2 separate regions of the Homo sapiens genome follow, and region 1 is linked to region 2. The links are contacts of gene promoters, found by promoter capture Hi-C in human tissues and cell types (Jung and others, 2019). All regions are on one chromosome and are shown on one strand. The core of a region is centred on a gene start or on the middle of the fragment in contact, and the rest is flanking DNA. Distances in the headings are between cores, read along the strand shown. Region 1 overlaps APBA3 (amyloid beta precursor protein binding family A member 3). Region 2 holds the start of ZFR2 (zinc finger RNA binding protein 2).

Region 1 (4,767 bases), core at 1,519-4,018, 120 kb before region 2:
GGTGAGCAGCTCGATGATGCGGGCGTGTGGCGTGGCCACCACACTCTGCCCATTGATCTCAATGATGCGGTGGCCGACGCGGATGCCCCCACGCTCGGCGATGCCACCACGGAGGAGGCTGCAGATCTGGGGGAGAAAAGAGGGGGACGGGAAAGAGGTGGGGGCTGCTCAGGGGCCGTGCTCAGGGCCGCCCTACCCCCCCACCCCGGGGCCAGGGGCCGGGGCCTCACGATGCCGTCCTCCACGCAGAAGCCCAGCTGCTCGCGGGCGTGGGGCCGGTGGATGATGGCGGTGGTGACGGGAGGGCAGTGGACGATGCTGAGTGTCACCGACGTCTGCGACTTCGTCTCCTGTGGGGCGGGGGCCGTTGGCCTCACTCAGCTGCCGGACAGCCTGGCAGGTTGTAGCCCCCTCTGGGCCTCAGTTTACCCTCTCATAAACCAGAGACCTGGAGTCCAGGGGCTCAATTCTGGAAGACCCCCTCAGATGTGATAGAGAACAGACTCGGGCCCGGTGGGCATGGGGTCGAAGCTGTCTGACCCGAGCCATATCGCTTCCTTATGGCCAAAAGCCAAGCCGACAGCCGGGCTCTCCAGGCAGGCTGCAAACATCTGTAAGAGGCTGCACGGACTGTGGCCTCATTCCTCTGACGGGGGCAGGTCCCTCCCTATCTCTGGGCCTCAGTTTCCCCATCTGAGCAACAAAGGTTGAGACTCAAAAACATGGCCAGGTGCAGTGGCTCACACCTGTAATCCCAGCACTGTGGGAGGCCGAGGCAGGTGGATCACTTGAGGCCAGGAGCTCAAGACCAGCCTGGCCAACCAACATAGTGAGACTCCATCTCTACAAAAAATAAAACAATAAACTGGGCGTGGTGGTGCACACCTGTGGTCCCAGCTACTCGGGAGGCTGAGGAAGGAGATTTGCTTGAGCCCAGAAGGTCAAGGCTGCAATGAGCCAGGTGCACCGCTGCACTCCAGCCTGGGCAAGAGTGAGACCTTGTCTCAAACAAACAAACCCCCCCAGAAATTAGCTGTTTCTTGTTAGAGAGAGAGAGTGGCCCAGCCCTGGAGCTGGGCCACCCGCATTTCCATCCTGGCTCTGGTACTAGGGAGGTGCCCTGGACAAGTGGCCTCCCTTCTCCAGGCCTCAGTTTCCCCAAGGGCACACCAGTGGGCAGGACTTAAAAGTTCGACTTTGTCCCTCCTGGCTGGGCTGGAGAGACCTGGCCAGGGAGGAGACCTCTCTGGGACTCAGCTCCCCTTCCTGGGAGTGTGGGGGCCCTGCCACACCAGGAAACTCACGCGGACAGCGGCCTGGCACGCAGCCAGGGGCAGCCCCACCAGGCTGGTCCCGTTGATGGCGGTCAGGCGGTCCCCGATGCTGAGGGCCCCCGAGCGCTCAGCAGGCCCCCCGTGCAGCAGGTTGGCGATGACGGCTGTGGGCAGCAGGGAGCCCCAGCCCGACTCCACCAGGGCCACGCCCAGGCCCTCCCCTCGCCGCTTCTCGAGGTGCACCTGGGACACACAGGGGGCGCGGAGGCTGCTCAGCAGGGCCCGGTGCAGGTGCACGGGTGTGGGGGGCACCAGGTGGGGGCTGCCCAGCACCTCACTCACCTCCCGGCAGTTGTCACTGTTGGAGAAGTGGTCCAGGTCCCCATTATGGAGGTGGCAGGCGCCTGGGCTCGGGTGCACGCCCACCTGGCTGGGGTCAATACCGCTTTCCCGTAGGAACTGGCTGTAGGCGGCGGCGAAGGCCTGGCCAATGGCCTGGGCGATGAGCTGGGCCTGCGGGGAGGAGTGGCGCGTCCCTGGGGTGTCCCACCCACCTCCTCCAGGTCCCCAAAGTCCCCAGGGTCCTCAGAGCTGAGCCCTCCTGTCCCCACCTGGGGTGAGAGTCCCAGGACACAGCCTTCTGCCCTGGGGCTTTGGGGGAGGTGGAGAGACAGCCGCATCTTGGGGAATCTACGGGGAGAAGGAAGGGGAGGGGCAGCCCTGGGCTGGGGGGACGATGAGGGAGGCAGCTCCCTGCGCATGGGCTGTGGGAAAAGCTATCAAAGACCCAGCCAGGGGGCCTGGGGCCTCATGGGTGGCAGGGACAGCCCAGGAGCGGGCAAGGTTTCGGGGAGTCGGCCGAGAGTCTTGGAGTCTTATAGGAGGCTGGACGCGGTGGCTCACGCCTGTAATTGCAGCACTTTGGGAGGCTGAGGTGGGTGGATCGCTTGAGCCCAGGAGTTTGAGACCGTGTTCACCTGGGCAACAGAGCGAGACCGTGTCTCTATAAAAAATACAAAAATTAGCCAGGCATGGTGATACCCCGGTGGTCCCAGCTACTAGAGAGGCTGAAGTGGGAGGATCGCTTGAGCCTGGAAGGTTGAGGCTGCAGTGAACTATGATTGCGCCACTGCACTCCAGCCTGGGTGACAGAAGGAGACCTTGTCCCAAAAAAAGAATTTAAAAATAAGCTTATGGGAGGGAGGTTAAATGCACGGCCCACTGAGGGAGGCGACAGTTGCAGTGAGGAGGGCCTCAGGAGGGTGGCCCCGCGCCCTGGCTGCTCACGTCCTCCGCGTAGAATACGTGGCAGAGCATCTTGTAGAGGCGGCGGCCGTGGTCCTGGGGTGCCGGCCTCCGTGCCAGCCGCCGCCGCGCCATCAGCACCAGCACGCAGCCGATGTCGGCTGTGTAGGAGATGGTATGCAGGGCGTGGTCCATCATGGCCTCCTGGGGCGGGAGAGGCAGCCTGGGTGGGTTGGGGGGCCGTGCCAGGCTCGATCACCCCACCCGCATCCCTGGGGCGGGTCCCTGCCCCGTACCTGGGAGTCCGCTGTCAAGACCTTGATCCTCTTGGTGGAGACGAACAGGTCCACCTCCGTCATGGGCTGGGTCTCCCCATCGGGGGCCTGTGGGTGGCGGCGTGGGAGGTGGAGGCCCCCACAGACCCAGCCTGCAGCCCACCCGCCTGCCCGCCCGGCCCCGGCCGCCCCCTCACCTTGACGCGGTCCATGGCCTCCCGGGCCTGGGCCATGCGCGTGCTGGTGGGCGGGTTCCGTTCCGACACCAGCTGGGTGGACCCCAGGTACCTGGCCCCAAATATGACACCGTCCAGGAGGTCTTCATGGTCACAGGGACCAGGCACTGAGGGCGACAGCGAAGAGGGTCGGCCCCCAGGGGCCCACTCCCACAGGCTCTGCCCCAGGGCTACGCTCTCCGAGATGGCCGGGAGACACAGTGTTCTAGCTGGTGGCTTAGCACTCTCCAGCCAGGAAGCACAGCCCACTGTTCTAGAACCATCCAAGCAGCCTGGCCCTCACAGGTCTAGAACCTTCTGTCCATCCCTCAAGGACTCGCAGGTGGGAAACCAGTGAGTCCAGGCCATGGCTGGATTCAAAGCCAGATCTAGCACCCACAGATACCTTCACCCCGTGTCCCCAGAATTCCATGATCAGGCCGGAACCAGACAGTCCCACTCCTGCTTTTTTGAGACACGGTCTCGCTCTGTCGCCCAGGCTGGAGCTCGGTGGTGTGATCTCAGCTCACTGCAACCTCCGCTTCCTGGGTTCAAACGATTCTCCTGCCTCAGTCTCATGAGTAGCTGGGATTACAGGCGCCCACCACCACGCCTGGCTAGTTTTTGTATTTTTAGTAGAGACGGGGTTTCGCCACGTTGGCCAGGCTGGTCTCAAACTCCCGACCTCAAGTGATCCACCCGCCTTGGCCTCCTAAAGTACTGGGATGACAGGCGTGAGCCACGACGCTCCACCCCCCACTCCAATTTCGAAACCTCCACAACATTCTAGAACCACAGTGGACCCCTGCTTCTTGGTTCTGGAATTCCCTCCATCAATCTAGAACTGGCCAGCTCTGCCCACTGTTCTAGAACCGTCTGCAGTCAGCCCAGGATAGCAGGCAGCTCTGTTCCCGGGTTGTAGAACCACTCAGAACAGAGACAGACCCTGCTGCCTGTCTAAAATTCCCATACTCTCCAGAACCCCAGCTGGTTCTGACCCTTGATTCCAGAACTCTCTGACAGGTCTCATAGCAATTCTGTCAGGAGTTTTAGAATCTTATTATCACTCTAGAATCAGACTTCTCTGCTCCGTGATTCCAGAACATCTTAATCACAATCGCGTCAGGCAGCTCTTCCTGTGGTTCTAGAATCTCCTTCAGTAGTTCACACCTTTGGCTACACCAGGGATTCTAAGAATTACCTGACCAGTCAAGGAACAAACAATTCTGTTCCAGGAGAATTCTAGACAGTTCCAGAATACTCCCAACCCAGCCCAGAACTACATAAAGCTTTACTCCTGGCTGGGTGCGGTGGCTCACGTCTGTAACCCCAGCACTTTAGGAGGCCGGGGGGGGGGGGTGGATCACCTGAGGTCAGGAGTTCGAGACCTGCCTGGCCAACATGGCGAAACCCCGTCTCTACTAAAAATACAAAATTAGCTGGGCGTGGTGGCGCGTGCCTATAATCCCAGCTACTTGAAAGCTGAGGCGGGAGAATCACTTGAACCCAGGAGGTGGAGGTTGCAGTGAGCCGAGAGAGATCGCACCACTGCACACCAGCCTGGGTGACAGAGCAAGATTCCATCTCCAAAAACAAAAAGGAAAAAAAAAAAAAAGCTTTACTCTCATGGTTCTAGAATTCCCTGAGCTACCCAGAGCCAGACAGCTCTGCCAGTGGCCCTAGAACATTCTAACCAGTAACTACGGCTCTTTGGTTTAGAACCACGGGTGTAGGGCCCCGTTCTGGACACCACTAAGT
Region 2 (4,463 bases), core at 632-3,131:
CCCTGAGCTCAGCAGAGGCCCCTCTATGAGGTGCCCAAGGGGTGGTTTGTATCTGTGGGGGCTCAGCAGGGACTGTGAGAAACAAGGTTATAGCAAGCTACCAGCTGGAAACTAACACAAGGGTGACACGCGGAAATGATCAACTGTTGGGGGGGGAATCTGGTCCCCTCAGAGATGCCAGCCCTGGCTCCCGGACTGGGACTCCAGTCTTGGGGGCAGATGGACGGGCTGAAGATAGCAGAGATGCTCCGAGGAGCAGGCCTGGGAGAACAGTGTAGAGTGTGTGTTTGTACACTTGGGGCACAAACTTACCCCGTGTGTGTCCCTACCCTCTGAGCCCTTCTGCCCCTGGCCAGTTCCCAGTGTGTCCCCATCCCCTGCCATCTCTCCTCCAGGATCCTTTCTCTCCCTCCCCTCCCAAACGACCACATATTTAAGACCTAGAAAAGGATCTTAAATATCACAACACTCAGGGCCCTTTCTCCCTCCTCACTGTCCCAGCAGGGTCCCAGTTCCCTGGAAACCCAGGTGCCCACCCTCTTATTTGACCTCAGGACCTCCTCCCACATAATACTGGCTTCCCGCCAAGTCTCTGTCCCCCTTCCCCAGTCAGGCCTCAGTTCCCCACCAACCTCGGTTTCCGCCCCTCCCTGGGGTAACCTCCCAGGTCTCTGTCTTCTCTCCTCCACCCCACATCAGGGGTCAGGTTCCCACCCCTACTCCACACCCCACCCCAGGTCTCTGCCCCTGCCTGCTAGGTACCCTCCCAGGTCTCTGCCTTCTCTCCTACCCCCACCATCAGGGGTCAGTGCCCTCCACACTCGAATGTTGCTGCCCCCTGCCCAGTCGGGAAACTTCCCAGGTCTCTGCCTTCTCCTCCTCCAGCAATCGGGGATTAACGCCCCTCTGCCCTTCCCCTCCTCCTGCCCAGCCAGACACCCTCCCAGGTCTGAATTCTCTCCCCCTACCAGCAATCGGGGTCAGCTCCGCTCTAGCTCTCCCCCTGTCCAGCCAGACACCCTCCCAGGTTTCTGTCTTCTCTCTTACCCCCATCAGGGGCCAATTCCTCACCCCTCGACTGTGGCTTCCTCCTGCCCAGCCAGGAACCCTCGCTGATCTCTGTTTTCTCCTCCCCTACAAGTAATCGGGGGTCAGCTACCCTCTGTCCATCCCCCTGCCCGGCCAGGCACCCTCCCAGGTCTGTGTCTTCTCCTCCCCCCGCAATCGGGGGTCAATGCCCCTCTGCCCTTCCCCTCCTCCTGCCCAGCCAGACACCCTCCTAGGTCTGTGTCTTCTCTTCCCCTACCAGCAATCAGGGGTCAGCTCCCCTCTGCCCATCCCCACCCACTCCCCGGCCAGGCACCTCCCAGGTCTCCTCCCTGCATTGGGTCAGTTCCGTCCCCTCCCCTCCTCGGTCAGACCACCCACCCCCCGCCCGGGTCTGTCCCCTCTCGCTGCCCTCCTCGTGGCGCCCCCATCAGGGGCTGACCCCCCCGACCCCGCACAGGCCCAGGCCCAAACCCAGGCCCCCTCCCACTTCAGGAGCCCCCTCCCGCTCCCGCCGACAGACACCGTTGGCTGCAGAGACGTCTCAGCCGGAGCCCCGGAGCCCGCATCCCGCCCGGTGCCTAACCTGAGGCCGCCCCGCCTGCTTCTCCCGGCGCCGCGGCTTCCCTCAGGCCGGGGTTCCAGGTTGGGGCTGGGACTGGGGCCGGGCCGGGCGCACGCGGCGGGAGAAGGGGTAGGCGGGGTCCCGGCCAGGCTGCAGGGGCCGGGACTGGCGGGGGCTGGCGCGGCGGGGCAGTTACCTGTACTGCGGGCCGCCGCCCTGCGCGAAGTCGAAATACTGACTCGTCGCCATCTTGGCGTCTTCCCCGAGCCTGGCGGACCCGCGACGTCACCCGCCCCGCCCCCGAGCCGCGTGCCGCTCGCGCCTGGCCACGCGCCCCAAGCTCCGCCCCCTGCGCGAAGCCCTCACCTTCTCGCTTCCTTCTCTTAGGCTAGGGAGACACCGCCCCGCGACCACACCTGCCCCGAGGCCCCGCCTCCTACGCAGAGCCCCGCCCTCCTCTTAACCACTCAAATGTGGAGGTCTCTGCTCAAGCCCCGCCCATGCTAGAAGCCCTGCCTCTTTCTCGGAGCCCCACATTCCCTTTAACCACTCAGATGTGGTGGTATCTGATCAAGTCCCGCCCATGCTACAAGCCCCGCCTCTTACTCAGAGCCCTGCCTTCCCTTTACCCACTCAGATGTGATCTCTGCTCAACCCCCACCCATGCCACAAGCCCCGCCTTTTTTTGGAACCGTACCTTCCCTTTAACCATTCAGGTGTGGAGGTCTCTGCTCAAGCCCCACCCATGCCACAAGCCCCGCCTCTTTCTCGGAGCCCCGCCTTCCCTTTACCTGCTCAGATATGGTCTCTGCACAAGCCCTACCTCTGTCTCCGAGCCCCACCTTCTCTTTAACCACTCAGATGTGGAGGTCTCTGCTCAAGCCCCACCACCACCACAGCCAGCTAATTTTTAAATTTTTTGTAGAGACAGTGTCTTGCTATGTTGCCCAGGCTGATGTTGAACTCCTGGCCTCAAATAATCTTGCCTTGGCCTCCAAAAGTGCTGGGATTACAGACGTGAGCCACTGCATCTAGCCTCAGAATGACTCTTCAGAAGGCCCCCATGGTCTCTGCCTCCTGTGTTCACAACGTGATATAAATAAATGATAGGCCGGGCACAGTGGCTCACGTCTGTAATCCCAACATTTTGAGAGGCGGAGGCAGGAGGATCTTGAGCCCTAGGACTTTGAGACTAGCCTGGGCAACATAGCAAGACCCTGTTTCTACAATTTTTTTTTAATTAGCTGGTCATGGTGGTACATGCCTGTGGTCCCAGCTACTCAGGAGGCTAAGGTGGGAGGATCACTTGAGCCTGGGCTGTCAAGGCTGCAGTGATCTGTGACTGTACCACTGCACTCCAGAGTGAGACCCTGTCTCAAAAAAGAGAAAAGAAAGAAAGGGCTGGGCGTGGTGGCTCACGCCTGTAATCCCAGCACTTTGGGAAGGCGAGGTGGGCAGCTCACCCAAGGTCAGGAGTTCAAGAGCAGCCTAGCCAACATGGCAAAACCCTGTCTCTACTAAAAATACAAAAAAAAAAATTAGCCAGGCGTGGTGGGGCACACCTGTAATCCCAGCTACTCGGGAGGCTGAGGCAGGAGAATTACCTAACCCAGGAGGTGGAGGATGCAGCGAGCCGAGATCACACCACTGTACTCCAGCCTGGGCAACAGAGCAATACACCGTCTCAAAAAAATAAAAAAATAAAAAATAAAAAAATAAATAAATAAATAATAAAAGAGGAGAGGGAGAGGAGCAGGGAGGGAGGGAAGGGAAGGAAAGAAGAGAGAGAGAGAGAGAGAGAGAAAGAATTGAATGAATAAACAAATAAATGGAGGCAAACAGACAAATCTCTTATGCAGAAGAATTCCTAATTTGTGTAGCTACACTGCGCTTAAGGAGATAGAGAGTAACTCTACACCTCTTGAGTGTGGGTTGTGCATAGTGACTTCCTTCCCAAGACTGCAGCCTGGAAGGAGGGGGAGGGAGAGTCACTTGACAGTATTGAAACCTGACAAGCAGCAGCGTGTTTGGCGGTCCCGCGGATCCGTCTCTTGCTTCCACAGTGTTTGGATGGAACAGATCCGGGAACTCACTTCCAGCCTCCGACCACCCGCTGATTTCCTCTCTTCTTGCAACCTCCAGGAGCATCGGCTCAGCCATCTCCTGCTTCTCGGACCAACCAACGCCGTTTTTTTGGTTAGCTCCTTCTTGCCGACCAACCATGAGCTCCCAGATTCGTCAGAATTATTCCACCGCGGTGGAGGCAGCCGTCAACCGCCTGGTCAGTTTGCACCTGCGGGCCTCCTACACCTCCTCCCTCTGCGGGTTTTTTTTTTTTTTTTTTTGCTTGTTTTTTTTTTGAGACGGAGTCTGGCTCTGTCGCCCAGGCTGGAGTGCAGTGGTGCGATCTCTGCTCACTGCAAGCTCCGCCTCCTAGGTTCACGCCATTCTCCCGCCTCAGCCTCCCGAGTAGCTGGGACTACAGGCGCCCACCACCACGCCTGGCTAATTTTTTTGTATTTTTAGTAGAGACGGGGTTTCACCGTGTTAGCCAGGATGGTCTCGATCTCCCGACCTCATGATCCGCCTGCCTCGGCCTCCCAAAGTGCTGGGATTACAGGCGTGAGCCATCGTCTGCGCTTCTATTTCGATCACCAAGATGTGGCTCCGGAATGCGGGGCTTACTTCTTCCATGAATTGGCCAAGGAGAAGCGCAAGGGTGTTGAGCGTCTCCTGAAGATGCAAAACCAGCGTGGTGGCCCTGCTGTCTTCCAGGACATCCTGAAGCCAGGTCAAGATGAGTGGGGTAAAACCCTGGAAGCCATGGAAGCCGCCATGGCCCCGGGGAAAA

Evidence for each region. Contacts are between HindIII fragments. The study calls those that stand out against the background at their distance.
Region 1: a contact is called between a fragment that was not itself captured here and the fragment with the promoter of ZFR2 in region 2, in 2 of the 25 tissues and cell types used here (IMR-90 fibroblasts and mesendoderm cells).

The regions. Positions count from the first base shown.
Region 1 is chr19:3,751,204-3,755,970 of GRCh38, forward strand. It overlaps APBA3 (amyloid beta precursor protein binding family A member 3), which reads right to left. Exons shown (of 11, transcript NM_004886.4): 4 at 2,992-3,137; 5 at 2,816-2,902; 6 at 2,562-2,723; 7 at 1,617-1,787; 8 at 1,305-1,517; 9 at 231-350; 10 at 1-126. Among named protein-coding and RNA genes, the nearest start is that of APBA3, 8.1 kb to the right of the region's middle. The HindIII fragment of the contact is 3,385 bases long and covers 1,077-4,461 here.
Region 2 is chr19:3,867,157-3,871,619 of GRCh38, forward strand. ZFR2 (zinc finger RNA binding protein 2) reads right to left here and starts at 1,882. Exons shown (of 19, transcript NM_015174.2): 1 at 1,809-1,882. The coding sequence starts at 1,861. It also overlaps the pseudogene FTLP5. RefSeq lists an enhancer at 3,969-4,463. The HindIII fragment of the contact is 14,046 bases long and covers 1-4,463 here.